Regions from separate parts of the Homo sapiens genome. Here all the other regions are linked to region 2. Evidence: promoter capture Hi-C in human tissues and cell types (Jung and others, 2019). All regions are on one chromosome and are shown on one strand. Each heading gives the region's core, a stretch centred on a gene start or on the middle of the fragment in contact. The rest is flanking DNA. Distances are from core to core; before and after follow the strand shown. Region 1 has its middle 150 kb from the start of NPY. Region 2 holds the start of CCDC126 (coiled-coil domain containing 126). Region 3 overlaps LOC107986777 (a long non-coding RNA gene).

What was found. Contacts are between HindIII fragments. The study calls those that stand out against the background at their distance.
Region 1: a contact is called between a fragment that was not itself captured here and the fragment with the promoter of CCDC126 in region 2, in 1 of the 25 tissues and cell types used here (mesenchymal stem cells).
Region 3: a contact is called between a fragment that was not itself captured here and the fragment with the promoter of CCDC126 in region 2, in 2 of the 25 tissues and cell types used here (lymphoblastoid cells and thymus).

The regions. Positions count from the first base shown.
Region 1 is chr7:24,130,976-24,134,010 of GRCh38, reverse strand. It overlaps the pseudogene RNA5SP228. Among named protein-coding and RNA genes, the nearest start is that of NPY, 150 kb to the left of the region's middle. The HindIII fragment of the contact is 3,348 bases long and covers 1-3,035 here.
Region 2 is chr7:23,596,051-23,599,462 of GRCh38, reverse strand. CCDC126 (coiled-coil domain containing 126) reads right to left here and starts at 2,081. Exons shown (of 4, transcript NM_138771.4): 1 at 1,858-2,081; 2 at 1,412-1,496. It overlaps LOC105375187 (a long non-coding RNA gene), which reads left to right and starts at 2,138. Exons shown (of 2, transcript XR_927098.2): 1 at 2,138-2,346. RefSeq lists a silencer at 1,600-1,839. The HindIII fragment of the contact is 2,823 bases long and covers 49-2,871 here.
Region 3 is chr7:24,411,484-24,414,782 of GRCh38, reverse strand. The region is part of intron 1 of LOC107986777 (a long non-coding RNA gene); the gene reads left to right. Among named protein-coding and RNA genes, the nearest start is that of NPY, 130 kb to the right of the region's middle. The HindIII fragment of the contact is 7,052 bases long and covers 1-3,299 here.

The DNA of each region.
Region 1 (3,035 bases), core at 291-2,790, 540 kb before region 2:
AGCCCGCAGGAGATGGGATAGGAAATAGCCTGTCCCTGATGTGTCCCCTAGAAAGACCAGAAGCTTACCCCAGGGTGGACTATGACAGCAGACACGAGCAGGATACCCAGTGACCAAGGAGACTAATGGCATCCCCACAGAGGAAGAGAAACCCGGCGACCACACAGAAACCCACACAGACCAACTTCCTTCCCCTAAAGCTCCTGCCCTCATCCAGACACCATTTTGACTGAGAGATGCCAGGGTAGAGAAGCCCATAAGGCTGATGTAGATCATTTACTCAATGGAGATGTTCAAACCAAAGAAGGCTAGGATCTTTAAATGGCAAATTTACATTTCCCTGGCCATGGCCCACCACTGGCAGGAAGAAGGGAGGCTTGGTCCCAGAACAGTTGCAGGAACCAGGCTTTTGCTGGTCTTCCTGGCATGACTGAGTTCTCTTGCATAAGTTGTTGATCCTATATACCTACATATATAGCTAAGGCATTGTGAGCACAGAAGACCTGATTTTTTTTTCTTTAGAAATGGCCTAAAGGAGAAAAGAACACAGAGTGATCCACCTTTTCTCTACGAAACCTTAAAAGACACAAGAGAAAGGTCTTTCTAGTAAGAAAAACACAATTGTTGTTATACCTGCTGAGTACTGCATCAAATTAAAAACCCATATCACAGTGCTCCTTTAAATCTGACCAGGTAGAGAAAGTGTTTCTCAGCAATCTCCAAAACTGGTAGGAAAAAGGTTATTATGTCAGTTAATCACCACATCAAGAGTCCTCCTAAGGAAGTCCTTTTCAGACTTTCCACAGCTTCTTAGGCCCCTGTGTGGCATCTGCCCCCTGCCTCCTCCCCTGGGTACTTGCCCCACCTCCTAGGCCTCTAAGCCATCCCAAGATGGGGTCATTTGAGGGGACTTCACAGTCTCTTTAGTATACACTGGGAGGTTGTGTTGACAGGCCATCAGCCTAAGCAGTAGAAATCTTCATTTAACGTGTTCTCTTGTAGTAAGCATGTCCTTTTTATTTTCTGTATTTTTGATGTTTTGACATCTGGGGCCTTGCTGACCCTAGACTAGCCAACTCTAGACCACAACCACCTCCTATCTGGGGCTCTTGCGCTGGACTGCAAACCGTAAATAGTACATTCCTGCCCTTCCCAAAGCAGAAGGGGTTAAAATCATCTCACTACCATGACTCTGCAAGTCCTCTGATGTTCCCTTTCTCCCATCCAAGTACTAGCCAGGCCCTGCCCTGCTTAGCTTCTGAGATTAGAGGAGATGGGGCATGTTCGGGGCAGCATAGCTGTGATAATATCCCCTTACTAATGCTCCTGTAGTAATGTCCTTACTCAACACATGTCTGGCCAACCTAAAGCTTAAATCTGGTTACATGGCATTTTTATGTGGTTCTTTACCATTTACAAGGCACTTTTGCTCCCATCATCTTATTGGATTCTCCCAGCCACCCTGTGGGGTCAGTGGGAATTAAATTTCTGATAAAATCCCTCTCTGCTCAACCGATTCCTGAATATTAAAGGAAATTTCAGCAAAATTTCATTATTGCAACATACTGAACACCAATGGAATTCAAAATCTTTTGAGGCCATTTCTACCAATCTTAGAAAATTTCTCTCTATTCAGCCAAACAGGGCTCTGTTCAATAGGAGCTGAATTCTGACATGAAACTTGGAACAAGGAAACTTATCTGATACCATTTGCATCCATAATACTTAGGTCAAGATCACATGCAAAAAACATCCATATTCTACACATTCATTCATCACTAAGGAAAACACTCAAATGCAGAAGGTTCAGGAAATAGATGTGGGAAAATGTATTCAGAATCCTACTACAGCTAGAGCCATAATTAGAAGTCTTGTGCTTGCCAGCTCTGAAGTGCTAATCTTTAAGATGGTCCAGATATTCAAGAAAACTAATAAATCCTTTTTAGTGCTATGCTTCTCTGTAGAACATATGAAAATGGGAGTTTTAAAAGTTACAAATTGGATGACACTTACAGATAAACTTTGCTTTGTACAGTAGATTCTTTTTTAAATGTGTAAGCTGACTGAACTTTTGTGAGTCAGGTTGCATTTTAAGTAAAAGAATCCAGAAAAGGAAGCGTTTGCTATTTAAGGGGATCATATATATATATGATTCCAGTTATTATTATATATACATCTATATATGTAATACATATAATCACCTTAAAGTTATCTTCTAATTTATATATTTTGTAAATCTGTAATTTTACATTTCAGATTTGCTTGAAGTAGGATACATATGGATTTAATTTGCAAAACAATTCATCTAAACTCCCTTATTTAGAAGATTTTTTATGTATTAGAATATGATTTTGTAAATAGCTGCTGGTGGCTGCATTTAGTAAGGATCTAAATGTCTAGTTCCAATTTTGATACAAACTAGTTGTGTGACTTTAGACAAATTACTTGTTATGTCCGGTTTCTTCTTCTGTAAAATGAGAAGTTTAGATTAAGTTATTTTTTCATTTTCTGATTTTCCATATACACTCATGTGTTCAACTTTAATACTTGACATATATCAGAATGTTAATATATATTAAGATCAATTTTCTAAGAACAATTTTTACATTTTTCCCTGTAGCTTTAATGCTATTAAATTCAAGCCTGCTTAATGCTTCTACCAGGTAATGATTTTGCAAGATGTTTTAAGTATCCAGCCTTGTTTACTCCTGTGAAGCAAGGAATATTACTTGAAAATAATAACTGTGTACTGCTCTCCAATGGAGAATCATTACATTTATGACCTTGAGTTTCTATTGAATTTCTCTCTATGTGTTTATTATCCCATACTCAGCCAATGACCATATGTTCTCCTCAAGACAGCTACTACTACTGTCAGAGATATGCTTATAAGATTTATTTTTGTCATTATTTACTTTTTAATGATATTTATACTCTGGCCATAAATGAGAGAAGACAGATGCATCATTTCCCCAACCTTGCCAGACAAAAAGGAATATATTCAGAGTCAAACAAACAATGTAGCACATACTTAC
Region 2 (3,412 bases), core at 832-3,331:
CACTAGATACTTCAATCACAGAGCTTCACCTGTCACAGCCGTGGCCAATCATGTTTTGTGCCACATGTCCCCACCTCCCCTTCCAAAGCCAACTAGGCTAGCATCTCTGGCCTCAAACAAAGAGGCCCCAGGGAAAACCAGGCAGTTGGCAGAAGGAGCTGAAGGAGAAGTCATGAAAATAAATAATAAAGTTGGATGAGGGGATTGACAAGCTAAAGTTATGAAGAATCAGGCACAACAGGTATAGGGGCTATGAGCAAAAGATACAGAGTAGGGAGAAAGAGAACAAAGCATGTCAAAAATGCAGAGAAACTGTGCAGCTCATGAGAGAGTGATAACTGGCTGGTAGAGATTCTTATTTCTGGCAGCTTTCTTGTTCTCTTAAATGTATTCCTTCTTTCAAGGTAGTTTGAAAGAATTATATGACCTGAAGCAGGAAGAAACACTAAGAACACAAATGACTAAAAGGGTTTACACAAATTTTGTTTCCACATTTAAAAAAAAACCTCTAAAAACCTTTATCATTGAAAGTCTGAGCTAGAAGAGTCCTTGGAATCAGACCAATTCACTATTTTAGAGATGAGGACATTGAGGACCACAAAGTAATCTCAGGTTACACAGATAGTGACAGAGCAAGGACAAAACTAAGGACTCCTATTTCCGTAGCCATTACTCTCTGTCCTACACTGCACTAAATAACACCAACATAGAAACATTTTCCTCAAAACAAGTATTTTTGCAACACATTTTAGAGTGAGAAATTATTAATCAGTGAGAAGATGCAGACAGATGTAGAAAAAAGTTGACCCAGGTTAAATATGGTGAAGCCCAGAGGCAGGACTGTAAAATACCTGGATGCCTACTCTGACGAAACAAACACTTAGCGCCTCTAAGGATTCCCAAAGGACACACCTGAGGGGGAGGGGAGAGGTGAATACTTGTACCTCTGAAGCTGATCCACAGAAAAGCAGAGTCATCAATTTCCTAAGAACATTCTCAGCCATCTTAAAACAGCAAAAATTAGGAAGACGGCATATTTTAATGAATCCTTTGGTTAGGTTTAAGATAAAGTGAAGAACACACAACCCAGGATGATTAAACAAACAAAAGCACAAAACTCAAGTCCAGAGGCCACTTCGGTCACTTCAGTCATAGCTAATGAAAGTATCACAAAGGATCTTTTCATCAAATGAAGAACTAATGACGTTATAGGTCTATATTCCTAATTCTAACCACTTACAGGTGTGTGTTTTGATGGATGAGAAAACTCAAGCTTAGAGCCTTTAAGTAACCAAGATCACCAAGGCAGGCAGTGAGAGAAACCCAGGCAGGATTCGAACCCTAGCTGGCTGAGCCATTCTCATTACCGTCACAGTCAACAATCAACACGGCAGTTTAAGTTCATCCTTACCAGTCACCCAGGAGATGAGTTTTGAAGAGGGAGTTTAAAAGGGGCATCTGACTTTCTCTCTCTCCCAAAGTAGAAGAGAACTGAGCTGTCAAAAACAGAAAAAGAAGTGAGTGCGGTGCCGCCCGGGATCTACATCCCGCAGCTCCGGACCAAGCCCGCCCCGCTCGACTCGCGCAGCCCCAGCCACGCTCGGCTCTCCGCCCGAGCCGAGGCGCCGCGGCTGTCAGACGCGGAGGGGCAGAGACGCGGCCCAAAGGAAGGGACAAAGAGCCTTCCCGGCCGCGGCCGGAGGCTGCCGGCCCGTTCCTAAGCCGGGTTTCCGCAGCAGCGGCCCTAGCGGGGCGGGGACCGGGGACGGGGGCGCGGCGGGGGAGGAGCGGCCGGCTAGGCTGAGGGGCGCGCGAGAGGTGCGGGCCCGGCTGGCGGACTCGCCCCTTACTCATTACCTGGCCGTGGGCTTCTCGTCACGGTCGCCGCCGCCACGGAGCTTCTGAGCCGGGGCGACGCAGCGAGAGCTAATAAGCGGGCGTCAGCTGCGTCCCACACTGGCGAAGCAGCCTCCAGATCGAGCTGGAGAAACGCCGGTGGGTGGGAGTTGGGACGAGGTTTGTTCCCAGCTTGTGGAGATTTTACTCCGCTCGTCCCTCGCACTCGGCTTCCGCTCCGCCTCCCTGCCGGCCCTTCCCGCACTCGGGGGCCAGCCGCCCGCGGCGCGCGGCATTGTGGGGGATGTAGTCCCAGAATGAGGAAGCGGCGGCACGTGCTTCCAGCCGCCCTGCACCTACCCTGGGTCAGAACGACGCAGCTGCGCGGCAACCAGAGAGGGCGGCGGGGTCTTCTGTGTTGGAAGATGAGCCCGCCAGAGGCATACCCTCGGCCTTAACTCGCTGCAGGCGCTGGAAGAAGGGCTCTGGCGTCTTGTTCCCGACCCTCCGGTGAGGAACCAACCTCCTAATACTATTGACCTGAGGCTGGGAAAGCTTAGTGATGATTAAGTGTGCTACAGATGAGACTACCCATTATTGAAGCCAAAGGTCCTTAGCCAGTGGAGTGAGGCAAGAAAAATAAAAGGATTGAAGATTAAATAGGAAGAAACAAAATTATTTTTTCATAGATTATGTAATTATGTACGTGGAGGCCGGGCGCCGTTGGCTCATGCCTGTAATCCCAGCAGTTTGTGAGGCCAAGACGGGAGGATCACCTGAGGTCGGGAATTCGAGACCAGCCTGGCCAACATGGTGAAACCCCGTCTCTACTACAGATACGAACTTAGCAGGGCGAGGTGGCGGACGCCTGTAATTCCAGCCTCTCGGGGAGCTGAGGCGGGAGAATTGCTTGAACCCAGGAGGCGGAGGTTGCAGTGAGCTGATATCGCGCCACTGCACTCCAGCCTGGGCAACAAGAGCAGAACTCCGTCTCAAAAAAAAAAAAAAATTGTTTGTGGCACTTCAAAACAATCTGCAGATAAACTGTTAACAATAAAAGTTTTTAACAAGGTTAATAGATACAAAAATCATATTTTAAAAAATCAATATTTATTTATATATGCTAGTAAAAAAGATAATTTTTTTAAAGATACCATTTCCAACAGCTCCAAACAAATATCAAGTACCTAGGAATAAATCGATCAAAGAAATGCAAAACCTGCCTGAAGAAAACATTGGAAGACACTGAAGAAGACCTAAATAAAGATGTAACATGTTCATAAATTGGAAGAGTCAATACTGAAAAATGCCAAGTCTCTCCAAACCTACCTACAGAGCCAGTGCAATTCCCAACAAAATCTCAATAAATTTCTGTGTATGTGTGAGAAACTTGACAAGCTAATTCAAAATGTTATGGAAGAGCAAAGACAAGCATTCATGAGGAAGAGGAGGAAGAAAAAAAAAGAAGAGGAGAAGGAGTGGGAGGAGGAAAACTTGTGCTACCGGATAACAAGCTTTATTATAGACTAGGCACGGTGGCCCATGCCTATGATCTCAGCACTTCGGGAGGCTGAGG
Region 3 (3,299 bases), core at 679-3,178, 820 kb before region 2:
TGTCTGAATCCCATGTGAGCTAGGACAGACCACAAAGGCCAGTCCAGGCAAGGCAAGGAAAGAGGACAACCTAGAATTGGGCACGATTACATTGACTTCAGTTTAGTGTTATTTCAAAGGCTGCCCATGAGATTAATGATATATAATGGTATCAGTGAGCTTCACCTCCTCCATCTCCCACCTCACAGCTTCCCTTGTTTCTCGTAAAAATCTAGGGGTCCCAGCAGCCAGGAGGGTAAGTGACCTGACTGGTCAGGGAACCCTAGAACGGCAGGCTTTCTGCCTTTTTCCCCTTTCAAAGGAGGGAACCAGGGTGTTCCAAGCCATGCCATCTGGCCTTGATGTTGAGTTCTAGGATCCAAATATCTTGCTACTCTATAATTACAAATCCCAACTCTTGTATTTTGTTTCTTACTGCACCATTGAGTACTTGAGGCTTCAGGGCAGCCTCCTCTTTCTTTGATTTCCTTTACTTTTTGTTCTGGGTCACATCAAGTCATCTCCTATGGTAACTGGTGTGGGCTATGAATTTCCAAGCCTGTGTAGATTTAAACATGTATTTATTCTAGTTTCCCACTTGATTGACAGTTTGGCTAGGTATAGAATGATAAGTGAAAATGGTTTTCTGTCAGAAATGTTGAGTCCCTTCTTCAGTGTCTTCTAACTTCATGAGAAACCTTGAGGCTAGTGTGGTATTTTGTTTCTTGTACAGGACCAGGGAAGCTTCTCTGGTGGGAAGATTTTCAGATATTTTTTTAAAAATTAATATTCTGACATTTCACAACCTGCTGTGAATGTTTTTATTTTACTAGGCTGGGCACTTGCTGGATTTTCTAAGTATGAGCACCCCTGTACTTTAGATCTTGGAAATTCTCTCATATTTTTCATTTGATCATTTTTTTCCTTGTTTTCTTTTCTTTTCGGTCTCTTATTAGTCTGATGTCAGATCTTCTAGAATGATAATCCATAACCTTTAATTATTTTTGTTATATTTTCCATCTCTTTTTTGGGATACTTCTTTCTGAAAGATAATTCTAAATTTGTCTTTGAACTTAACTCTTTACTATTTGAACTTAACTCTTTATTTCAGTTATTATTAAATATATCTTTTATATCTAAGGGTTATTTCCTCCATTTTTTTCATAGCATTCTGTTATGTTTTCATCATGCAATATCTTCTCAAATATCCCCGAAGATAATCATTAATTTATTTTCCTTTAAGTTTTCTTTTGTTTCTTGAATTATATGTTCCTTCTGGTGTTATGCTTTTTCCCTGTGTTTTTCTTGGTTCTTTCTTCCGTGTCCAAGGCTTTCCTTGGATGTCTCATCTTTCTTGGCTATCCACACATTTTAAGGGTAAGGCCTTGAAACTTATTAAGAACCTGATATGAGGCAGGTTACTGATTGGCAGGCTTCTTTTTAGGGTCATCAGGCATGAAACTGGCTCTTATTCTGAGAGTTCCAAAAATGCTTGAATTCAGAGACCTTTGCCCTGTAATCATTTATTTCTGTAGAGAACAATCCTCCAATTAGCCTGAGGTAGAGCAGATTATGTAAAAGCTCTGTAGTCTTGGATTTAAATGGCAAGTATTAGTATGAACTCTTCTATCTTATATCTGTAATTCCTTTTTAAAATACAAAGAATCTGGTTTTCAGGGACCCAGGGGATACTAGAATGAGAAAGTGCTGTTTTTGTGCTCCAGAGTTCAGTTTGCACATGGCAGCTAGAATAGACTTTTTTAAAATAAACTTTTAATTGTAGAACAGTTTTAGATTTACAGAAAAATTGTGAAGATAGTACAGAAAGTTCCCATATATCCTACCCCCAATTTCCTCTGTTACTAACATAGTAGTATGGTGTATTTGTCATAATTAATGAATAAATACTGGTACATTATTATTAACTAAAGCTCATACTTATACTTTGCTCAGACTCCCTTAGTGTTTACCTAACGTCCTTTTTCTGACCCAAGATCCCACGTTAGATTTAGTCATCATTCTCCTTAGGCTCCTCTTGGCTGGATTTTTTTCTCAGACTTTTCTTATTTTGATGACTTCGAGGAGTACTGGTCAGGTATTTTGTAGAATGTCCATCACTGGGATTTGTCCGATTTTTTTTCATGTTTAGACTGAAGTTATGAATTTTGGAGTGGGAGACGACGAGGTAAAGTATCATTCTTATTACATCATATCAAAGGTATATACTATCAACATGACTTATCACCATTGATGTTGACTTTGACCATCTGGCTAAGGTAGTGTTTTCAGGTTTCTCCACTGTAAAGTTACTTTTCCCATCCTTTCCATATAGTACTCTTAAGAAGAATGTAATTATGTCCAGTACACACTTAAGGAGTAGGGAGTTGTGTTCCACTACGTTGAGGGCAAAGTATCCACATAAATAACTTGGAATTCTTCTGCACAGAATGCCCTTTTAAAAGCACAAATAAGGGTATTTTGAGCCTTGATTAAAATGCTCTAAGGACTTCTCTGCTTTCTTAACATAAAATCCAAACACTTTACCCTGGGCCATGGGCCTATGCCATCTGGTCCCCACTTTCTGTGGTCTCCATGGGCCATGGTCCTATACAATGTGCTCCTACTTCTTACTCCAGGCTTCCTACAGGCCACATATGATCTGCCCTGATCTTTCTTCTCAACTCCATTTATTCTTCCCCTCTCTCAGTATGCTCAATCACACGGGCCTACTTTTGATTTCTTAAAAAGGTCAAGCACATTCTCATTTTAATGATTTTACCATAGCTGTTGCCTCCTATTTTTACAGGGCTAATTCTTTCTTGTCATTGAGGTCTTAGCTTAAATGTCCCTGACGATATGGCTGCCAATTTACTTTCTATAAAATCATCCTGTTTCACTTTGGTCATAATACCTATCTCAGTCTCAGTAATTTCAGGTTCATATTCTGTTTATCATCTACCTCTACTCATCTAGGATGTTCAAGTGTTGTGAGAATAGTCTTTATCTGTCTTGCCTATTACCATGATACTTTTACCCAGAACTGTGCCTGATGCTGTAGCAGTGAATAAATGAATGACCTCATTTACCTTCCCCTGGAGGCCTATGGAGAGAGAGGATATGAAAATATGAAGTCAGTCTATCACCTTGAATCAGAAGTTTCTGCAACTATGTTTAAAATGGTTAAAATAGTAGTTAAAAATGGTTAAAGTTGATTATTCGTGAGAAATCAGTAAATAAAGGCAACATGAAATGCACTTTTTAAAAGGAAATTCATTATATGGCCTTCAGTCAATAAAGCACAGGGCTCACTGCCTGGCTTT